Regions from separate parts of the Homo sapiens genome. Here regions 2 and 3 are each linked to region 1. Evidence: promoter capture Hi-C in human tissues and cell types (Jung and others, 2019). All regions are on one chromosome and are shown on one strand. Each heading gives the region's core, a stretch centred on a gene start or on the middle of the fragment in contact. The rest is flanking DNA. Distances are from core to core; before and after follow the strand shown. Region 1 holds the start of HSD17B3 (hydroxysteroid 17-beta dehydrogenase 3). Region 2 has its middle 46 kb from the start of PTCH1. Region 3 overlaps LOC105376156 (a long non-coding RNA gene).

The links. Contacts are between HindIII fragments. The study calls those that stand out against the background at their distance.
Region 2: a fragment that was not itself captured here is called in contact with the fragment with the promoter of HSD17B3 in region 1 in 1 of the 25 tissues and cell types used here (lymphoblastoid cells).
Region 3: a fragment that was not itself captured here is called in contact with the fragment with the promoter of HSD17B3 in region 1 in 1 of the 25 tissues and cell types used here (dorsolateral prefrontal cortex).

What each region holds. Positions count from the first base shown.
Region 1 is chr9:96,300,924-96,303,623 of GRCh38, forward strand. HSD17B3 (hydroxysteroid 17-beta dehydrogenase 3) reads right to left here and starts at 1,253. Exons shown (of 11, transcript NM_000197.2): 1 at 1,028-1,253. The coding sequence starts at 1,181. It overlaps SLC35D2-HSD17B3 (SLC35D2-HSD17B3 readthrough), which reads right to left. Exons shown (of 26, transcript NR_182427.1): 16 at 1,028-1,388. The HindIII fragment of the contact is 9,231 bases long and covers 1-2,700 here.
Region 2 is chr9:95,553,702-95,556,601 of GRCh38, forward strand. No RefSeq gene overlaps it. Among named protein-coding and RNA genes, the nearest start is that of PTCH1, 46 kb to the left of the region's middle. RefSeq lists an enhancer at 1-112. The HindIII fragment of the contact is 5,995 bases long and covers 1-2,900 here.
Region 3 is chr9:95,392,492-95,395,420 of GRCh38, forward strand. The region is part of intron 2 of LOC105376156 (a long non-coding RNA gene); the gene reads right to left. Among named protein-coding and RNA genes, the nearest start is that of FANCC, 76 kb to the left of the region's middle. The HindIII fragment of the contact is 5,875 bases long and covers 1-2,929 here.

The sequences.
Region 1 (2,700 bases), core at 3-2,502:
CAATGAGTTAAAATTATTTAGATTTCAAAATTTGGAAACACCTTTTAGTAAAGTGAAAGCACCCTGGGCTTTTTGTAAATTTAGAGATGAGGATGCAGAAATTTCTGCATTATTTATTATTTGTATTAGCAGGAAACTCCCAAAAGAAGAAAACTCATCTAATGGGGTTGAGAGGATAAGTGCTTAGCAAGGGCTGGGTAGCCTTCTGCCCTAGTGTTCCCCTAATGCCCTACAGCTTGTGTTGCAGACCATTCTAATTTCACTCACACTTTTCTAATCCCCCCAATTAAAATTACCCAAAGGAATTACTTCTTTGCTCTCAAAGAGAAAAAAATGCAATATCCCTTTTGAGACATAAATAATAATAAGCAGGGGCTGGGTGCGGTGGCTCACGCCTGTCATCCCAGCCGTTGGGGAGGCCGAGTCGGGTGAATCACAAGGTCAAGAGTTTGAGACCAGCCTAGCCAACAGGGTGAAACCCTGTCTCTACTAAAAATACAAAACGTTGGCTGGGTGCGGTGGCTCACGCCTGTAATCTCAGCACTTTGAGAGGCTAAAGTGGGCAAATCATGAGGTCAGGAGTTCGAGACCAGCCTGGCCAACATGGGGGAACCCTGTCTCTACTAAAATACAAAAAATTAGCCAGCCGTAGTAGTGTGTGCCTGTAATCCCAGCTACTTGGGAGGCCGAGGCAGGAGAATTGCTTGAACCCAGGAGGCAGAGGTTGCAGTGAGCAGAGATCGCACTACTGCACTCCAGCCCGGGCAACAGAGTGAGACTCTGTCTCAAAAAAAAAAAAAAAACACCATTAGCCAGGTGTGGTGACAGGCGCCTATAATCCCAGCTACTTGGGAGGCTGAGGCAGGAGAATTGCTTAAACCCGGGAAGCGGAGGTTGCAGTGAGCCAAGATCGCGCCATTGCACTCCAGCCTGGGTGACAGAGCAAGTGTCTGTCTCAAAAATAATAATAATAGTAACAAGCAGGAACAACAGCAGCAAAAAAACATGAGATGGAACACTCCCTTACCTGCCCACTGTCCCATTGACCGCAAGAAAGACTTTGGCAAAACTTTCCAGTAGTTCAGTAAAACACATCTGGAGAATCTCACGCACTTCGCCAGGCAGGCCAGGCACACCAGCAGCCCTGTGAGGATGAAGAACTGTTCCAGGACGTCCCCCATGGCTGCACTCAACAGACTGTTTCAGCCCTGGCCGTGGCTCTCTGTGTATGCCTCCTGGGACCACGCTGCTCTGGAGACCTCCAGATCTTCTTCCAGGAGTCACTGGACGTGTTCCATCAAGTCAGGGGCATCTAGATTAAAGTAACTTCTTTACATAATCCTCTGACTCACAGGCCTTTGAATAAGGCTTTTGTTACTGTGGAGGAGCTGGTGAAAAAGTAAAAGGTGGACATGAAGGGAAAAAAACAAAGCCTGGACAAATATAAAATGGCAGCCCACAGTTCTCTCCCTGAATTTGGGAAAGTTAAAAAGGATGCAGAATCCAAGGCAATTATTCATACATTTAGCACTATGTATTGACTGCCTACCAGGTGGAGTCCCCTCTTGAAGGCATTAGGAAGTTAATAGTGACCACAGAGGGTCTCTCTGGTTTGGAGCTTAGATTCTGGTAGCAGGGACAGATGATGAGCAGATAAATAAGATAACATCAGATGGGGCAGTGGCTCACGCCCATAATCCCAACATTTTGGGAAGCCAAGGCAGGCGGGTCACATGAAGTCAAGAGTTCAAGACCAGCCTGGCCAACATGGTGAAACCTCATCTCTACTTAAAATACAAAAATTAGCCAGGCCTGGTGGTGGGCACCTGTAATCCCAGCTACTTGGGAGGCTGAGGCAGGAGAATCACTTGAACTTGGGAGGCGGAGGTTGCAGTGAGCCAAGATCACGCCATTGCACTCCAGCCTGGGTGACAGAGTGAGATTCTGTCTCAAAAAAAAAAAAAAGATAACATCAGTGCTATGAAAAAGCACTATTGAATGATGTGTTTGAGTAGCTACTCAGGGAATGCTTCAGAGAGGGTGTTCAGGAAGGAATTCCATGAAGAGGTGGCATTTTTAGTTGAAATTTGAATGAAAAGGAGCCAGCTCCGCAAAGATGAGTTTCCCCCTCCAGGCTAATGGAACGGCTAGTACAATGCCTGAAGTGAGAAAAATCCACGTATTTGAGGAATAAGAACTAGGACAGGACAGGCATGGTGGCTCACGCCTGTAATCCCAGCACTTTGGGAGGCCGAGGCAGGCGGATCACAAGGTCAGGAGATTGAGACCTACTAAAAATACAATAATTAGCTGGGTGTGGTGGAGCATGCCTGTAATCTTAACTACTTCGGAGGCTGAGGCAGGAGAATCGCTTGAACCTGGGAGGTGGAAGTTGCAGTGAGCTGAGATTGTGCCACTGCACTCCAGTCTGGGCGACAGAGCAAGACTCCATCTCAAAAAAAAAAAAAACACTAGGACAACACAGCAGAGGGACTGGCCACAGAGAGTAAGGGAGGAAAAGGCCAGAGCAGGAGGGAGGAGCCATGCCCTACGGGTGAGTGTGGACTTTCAGAGCAACCAGAAGCCATTGCACAGATTTAGGAAACAGAGTTCTATACTCTGAATTATGCTTTTAAAAGGCCACTGGATGCTGAGGGAAGATGTCCTTCTGGGGGTGGGATGGAGGGTGGGTGTGACAAC
Region 2 (2,900 bases), core at 143-2,642, 750 kb before region 1:
TTGTAAAGAGGGTTTTTGAGGATTAAATCAAGTAAAGGTTTTTGAGAGGAGATCATCCTGGAGTTAGGCTGAGCCCTAGATCCAATGACAAGTGTCTTTATAAGAGGCACGGGGGGTCGGGGGGACAAAGTAGGAGAAGGCCATGTGGAGAGGCAGGCAGAGATTGGAGTCACAAACCAAGCAATGCCCAGAGCTACCCACAGCTGGGAGAGGCAGGGAAAGATTCTCCTCTAAAGCCTTGGTGGGGAGCATGGCCCTGCCCACACCTTGATCTTGGACTTCCAGCCTCCAGAGCTGTGAGAGGGCCCATTTCTGTTGTTTAGTCCACCAGGTCTGTGGTCTTCGGTGATCTGTGGTCATTGGTTGGCAGCCCTGGGAAGCTGGTAGAGGCACCCTCTCAAGCTGCTGTTTTCTGCTTGGTTGTATCTAGGGCTGAAAGCCATCCAGTTCAACACGCTTCCTTTGGACTCACTTAACGAACTCACCAAAGCTGGCCTTTTCTTATTATATTTAGAGCGTTTGGGGCTGTCCCCAAACAGCAAAGCCTCCCTCTTTTCCACTCCCTTCCAGCCTTCTCTTCTCTATCCAGACTGAATAGCATCCACCAGAAACCACCTCAGAAGGCTCACATCCTAGAGCTGAAAAATGACTTGGCAGGTTTTAATTTTTTCATATCATTTTTTAAAATGAGCAAAATTTATGCCTTGTACAATGACTTGTAGACAATTGAAACAATCTAGAAGAATAAGCTTTGCCTTCACCCCCTGCGCCCTTCTTCCATCACACCTCCTATGCCCATGGTAACCAGTGATAACCAAGAACACTCTGGTGAAGACCCTTCCAGTCCTTTCTCTAGGAAGACACTTTCCAAGTGACAAAGTACTCAAATATATAGGAAATGTAAGCTTTGACACAGGTAGAAACAGAACCAGGCTTGTTGAAGCAGCCATGGTGGGATGCTTGGAATCCACTGACTATTGCTCCTACAATCTCTCCGAGGAACCCACAGACTACAAGGCACAAAGACAAATTGAAAACCACTATCTTAGCCCTCCTGGGGATCCGGCCTTGGAAACCAAGGTCAATGCCATGGTTTGAATGTTCATGTCGTCTCCAAAATTCATGTTGAAACAGTCCCCAAAACAAAAGTATTAAGAGGTGAGGCCTTTAGGAGGTGGTCAGGCCATGAGGGCTGTCTTCAGGGATGGAATTAGTGCCTTGTAAGAGGGCTGGAGGGAGCTAGCTAGGTCTTTTGTGCTTCTGCCTCTTGTTGTATGAGGACCTAGCAACAAGGCACCATCTTGGAAGCAGGAGCTGCCCTCACCAGACACCTGCTCTGCCAGTGCCTTGATCTTGGACTTCCAGACTCCAGAACCGTGAGCAATACATTTCTGTCCTTTATAAATCATGGAGTCTGTGGCATTTTTGTTATATAGCCCAAATGGACTAAGGCAGCCAGGACGAGGGCAAGGCATGTGTGTGAAAAGGTATGGAGGTGCTCATTCGCAGAGCTTAGGAGCTCTTCAGGTTGGATGGTGAAGACCCAGACACGGGCAGAGGAGGGGTCATGGCTCTCTCTCTTTGAGGCTTCTGGGTATTTCAGAAGGAGGAAGAAGCTGTAGTGATTATTTCCAGCTACATACACCAGGAACTCTCCTCCAAAGCCTACATATCTCCCCATGTCTCCTACAGTGAAAGCCAAAGTCCTTGCTGGCCACACAGGATCTGCTCCTTCACACCACCCCAGAGACTCTTCCTCCCCAATCACATCCCCTGTCACTATTTCCTCCACCTGCCCTACTCCAGTCTCTGGCCTCCCTCCTGTCCCTCAGACACACCAAGCTCGGCACCTGTGCATTTGCTCTTCCCTTTACCTGGAGTGCTCTTCCCCAGGTATCCGGGCTTCTCCCTTACTTCCTGCAGACCTCTGCTCACATGCCCCTGATCTGAGCTTCCCCAGCCACCCTACGCAAGTGGCACCTGCCCCACCCACCACATGCTCTTCCCTGCTTCCTTCACTTCTCCAGTACTGGGTGTCACCTGACTTTCCAGCCATAGGGAGACAGACAGACTGTACCACAGCTTTTGTGAGAAATAATACAAAAATAAGTCAGCTGCTTTCTCCCACTGACTGCACTGCAGAGATGTCACTGAGTACCTGGTCTGCTCTTCCCCAGGCTTCCTTCTCCTCTCTGGCTTCCAGAAACTTGGGGGCCAAATTTGAGGGTGAACTCTAAGAACTCTGTAGGACTTTGATGTCTTTCTCTTTGGCTGTGATTTTTCAGACTTATTCACATTTCCCCACCCTCGTTTCTTGTGCCTGTTGTGTTATGTTATGCTGTGGAGTTTGCTTTTTTCATAACCGAAGGAAGAGGCGGGAGAGAAGTAAGGCACTTGTTGAGGTCCCAGATGAATACACACACTTGAAGAAGGTGACACTCCTTGATTGCCTGTACTTCTGGGGCGAGCTGCTGGGACTTTTGGCCCAGCAGGCACAGTTGGAAATTTAATACTGCCTGGGACAGATTTTAAAAAGATGGCTGGTACAAGTAGTTCAGTCAAGTACTGAGATCAAGTTTTTGCTCACGTAGTCTTATGTAAAAGATAGTATGGATAAGAACATGTATCCATAGGTTTACAGAATGTTTGAGCTAGAAGAAATTGTTGGTACATCCAAATACTTCCTTACAGAAATGAGGAAAACTGAAGACCAAGCAGATTGCCTAAGGACCAGAACTACTTATTGGCAGAGACAATGGGATGAAAATCTTTTTCTCTCTCCTCCTAGCTTTTTCCATGATACCACCCACAACGTTGCAGTTCTTCCCATTTTGAGTATTGAGATCCTTGGAAAGTGTGTTAAGAGGTTATGCCTGCATATGTGTAATTCTTTTTCCCCC
Region 3 (2,929 bases), core at 284-2,783, 910 kb before region 1:
GAATTGGAAGATTCAGTATAGTAAAGATGTCATTTCTCCCCAACTTGATAATAGTTGTAATGAAATTGAATTAATGAATCAAATAGAGTGATTTCTCCCACTTTCTTCTTCTTCATCCAGATTGTTTTAGCTATTCTTGGGCCTGCGCTTTTTTCATATAAATTTTACAATAAACTTACCTTTGTCTATAAAAAAACCTTGTTGGGATTTTGATAGGAATTTCATTACATCTGTAGATCAATTTGGGAAGAAATGACATGCTTACTATACTGAATCTTCCAATTCATGAATTAGTATGTCTCTCCATTTATATAGGTCATTTCTTATAGGTTGATTATAGGTATATAGGTTGATTTCTTTTGTCAGCATTTTTTTATTTTGTTGTGTTATGTCCATGGGTTTTAGTTGTAAAGGAGAGGACCTGGGGGAAAAGGAGCTACTTCATCTTGGTGGAATTGGAAGTCCTATTACAGTTGTCTCCTCTTATCCATGCTTTTGCTTGGAAAGTTAGTTTCAGTTACTTGTGGTCAACAGTGGTCTGAAAATATTAAATGGAAAATTCCATAAATAAAGAATTCATAAGTTTTAAATTTTGCACTGTTCTGAGTAGCATGATGAAATCTTGCCCCTTTCTGCTCCATCCCACCCAGGACGTGAATCATTTCTTTATCCAGCATATCTACTCAGCATATGCTGCCTGACCACTAGTTACTTGGTAGTCCTCTTGGTTATCAGACCAAAAAACTAGTATATATAGCGTTTGGTACTATGTGTGGTTTCAGGCATCCTCTGGGGGTCTTGGAATGTATCTCTTGCAGGTAAGGAGGACTCTCTATTGGCTTTTGAACTCTTCAAGGTCAGAGATTTTGTCTGCTTTTTTTCTGCAACATGAAGTCTAGCATGCTGTCTGTCACAGTAGATGGTTTAATACATGTCGGATTAATAAACAAGTAATTGATATTTGTTGAGAAAATAATTTTGTGTTGGATGCAGAGAATATGTATGAGGTATTTTTTCTACCCTTAGAGAACAAACTATATGACTGTGAAAACTTAATGTGAAACTTACACGTTTAGTTTTGTGTAATGTGGTTTTGTTTAGTGGGTATTAGAATGAAATTTGAAATCCAGTGGTCCTGGATATGAATCTGGCCTCCATTAATTTACTAGCTATATGACCTTGGGAAAGTTCCTTAACTTCTCTGACACTAGGATTTTCTCATTTAAAAAATTGGGTGCTGGCTGTAGTCACCTGTCAGGGTTTTTATAAGGTTAAATGGTATAATACATGAAAAGTACTTGACTCTGTGCTTGACATGTAGGAAGCCCTCAAAACTGGTAGTGACTAAAGAAAATGATAAGCAGCATTACAGCACAGGTAAGTGATAACTGGGTTACACAAAGTATAACAGGAACGCCTATGGAAACCTAAAGTTGTAGGGAAAGACTTTATGGAGGAAGCAGGACTTGATCTAGCCCTTAAAAAAGAACAACGCTAGCTGGGCACAGTGGCTCATGCCTGTAATCCCAGCACTCTGGGAGGCCGAGGTGGGCGGATCACCTGAGGTCGGGCGTTCGAGACCAGCCTGACCAACATGGAGAAACCCTGTCTCTACTAAAAATACAAAATCAGCCGGGTACAGTGGCACATGCCTGTAATCCCAGCTACTCGGGAGGCTGAGGCAGGAGAATCGCTTGAAACCAGGAGGTGGAGGTTGTGGTGAGTCGAGATCGTGCCATTGCACTCCAACCTGGGCAACAAGAGTGAAACTCCATCTCAAAAAAAACAAAACAAAACAACAATGCTTAGACAAGCTTCGAGGTGAGAGTGAGTGAACATGGTTATGGCATTCCAAAGAGACAAGACATAATGAGCTATGGTTAGGAAGCTGCAATGTGTATGGCAGGCTCGCAAAACAAAAAGATTACTTGGATGATCCAAGAAATCTTGTACAGAAGTAATAGCAATAAGGTAGACTAGATGTCCTGAAAATCATTCCTCTACAAAATCCCTAAAAATGCTTATTTTTTAAAGACTTTATAGTTACATTTTCAAAAAGTAAGGGAAATCCTCAAATTCCAAAAAAGTACTTAAAAGCATGAATTCAAGCATCAGAGTTAAACTACATAGCAGACCAAATAGGCCTAAGCGACATTTACAGACCATTTCACCCAAATGCTGCAGAATACACGTTATTTTCATCAGGACATGGAACATTCTCCAGAACAGATCATATCTTAGGCCATGTGACAAGTCTCAACAGATTTTTTAAAAATATAAATCATATCAAGTGTCTTTTCTAACAAAAATGGAATAAAACTAGAAATCAGTAGCAAGAAGAACCTTGAAAACCACAAAACACATGGAAACTAAACAACATGCTCTTGAACAACCTATGGGTGAGAAAAGAAATAAAGAAGAAAATTAAAAAATTTATTGAACTACATCACAAAGGAAATACAACATACCAAATCTATTGAATATAGCAAAAGCAGTACTAAGAGGGAAGTTTATAGCAATAAATATCTATATCAAAAAAGTAGAAAGACTTTAAATAAACAACCTAAAATGTGCCATAAGGAACTAGAAAAAAAGAAAAAACCAAACCCTAAATTAGTAGAAGGAAATAAATAATAAAGATCAGAGCAGAAATATATGAAACTGAGACTTAAAAATACAGATCAATAAAATGAAAAGTTGGTTTTTTGAAAAAATAAACAAAATCAACAAACCCTTAGCTAGATTAAGAAAAAAAGAGAGAAGACCCAAATAAAATTAGAAACAAAGAAGGAGACACAACTGAGACCACAGAAATAGAATCATTAGAGACTGTTATGAACAACTACATGCCAACAAATTTTTAAAAATTCTAGGGAACTTAGAAAAATGGATAAATTCCTGGACACATACAACTTACCAAAATTGAACA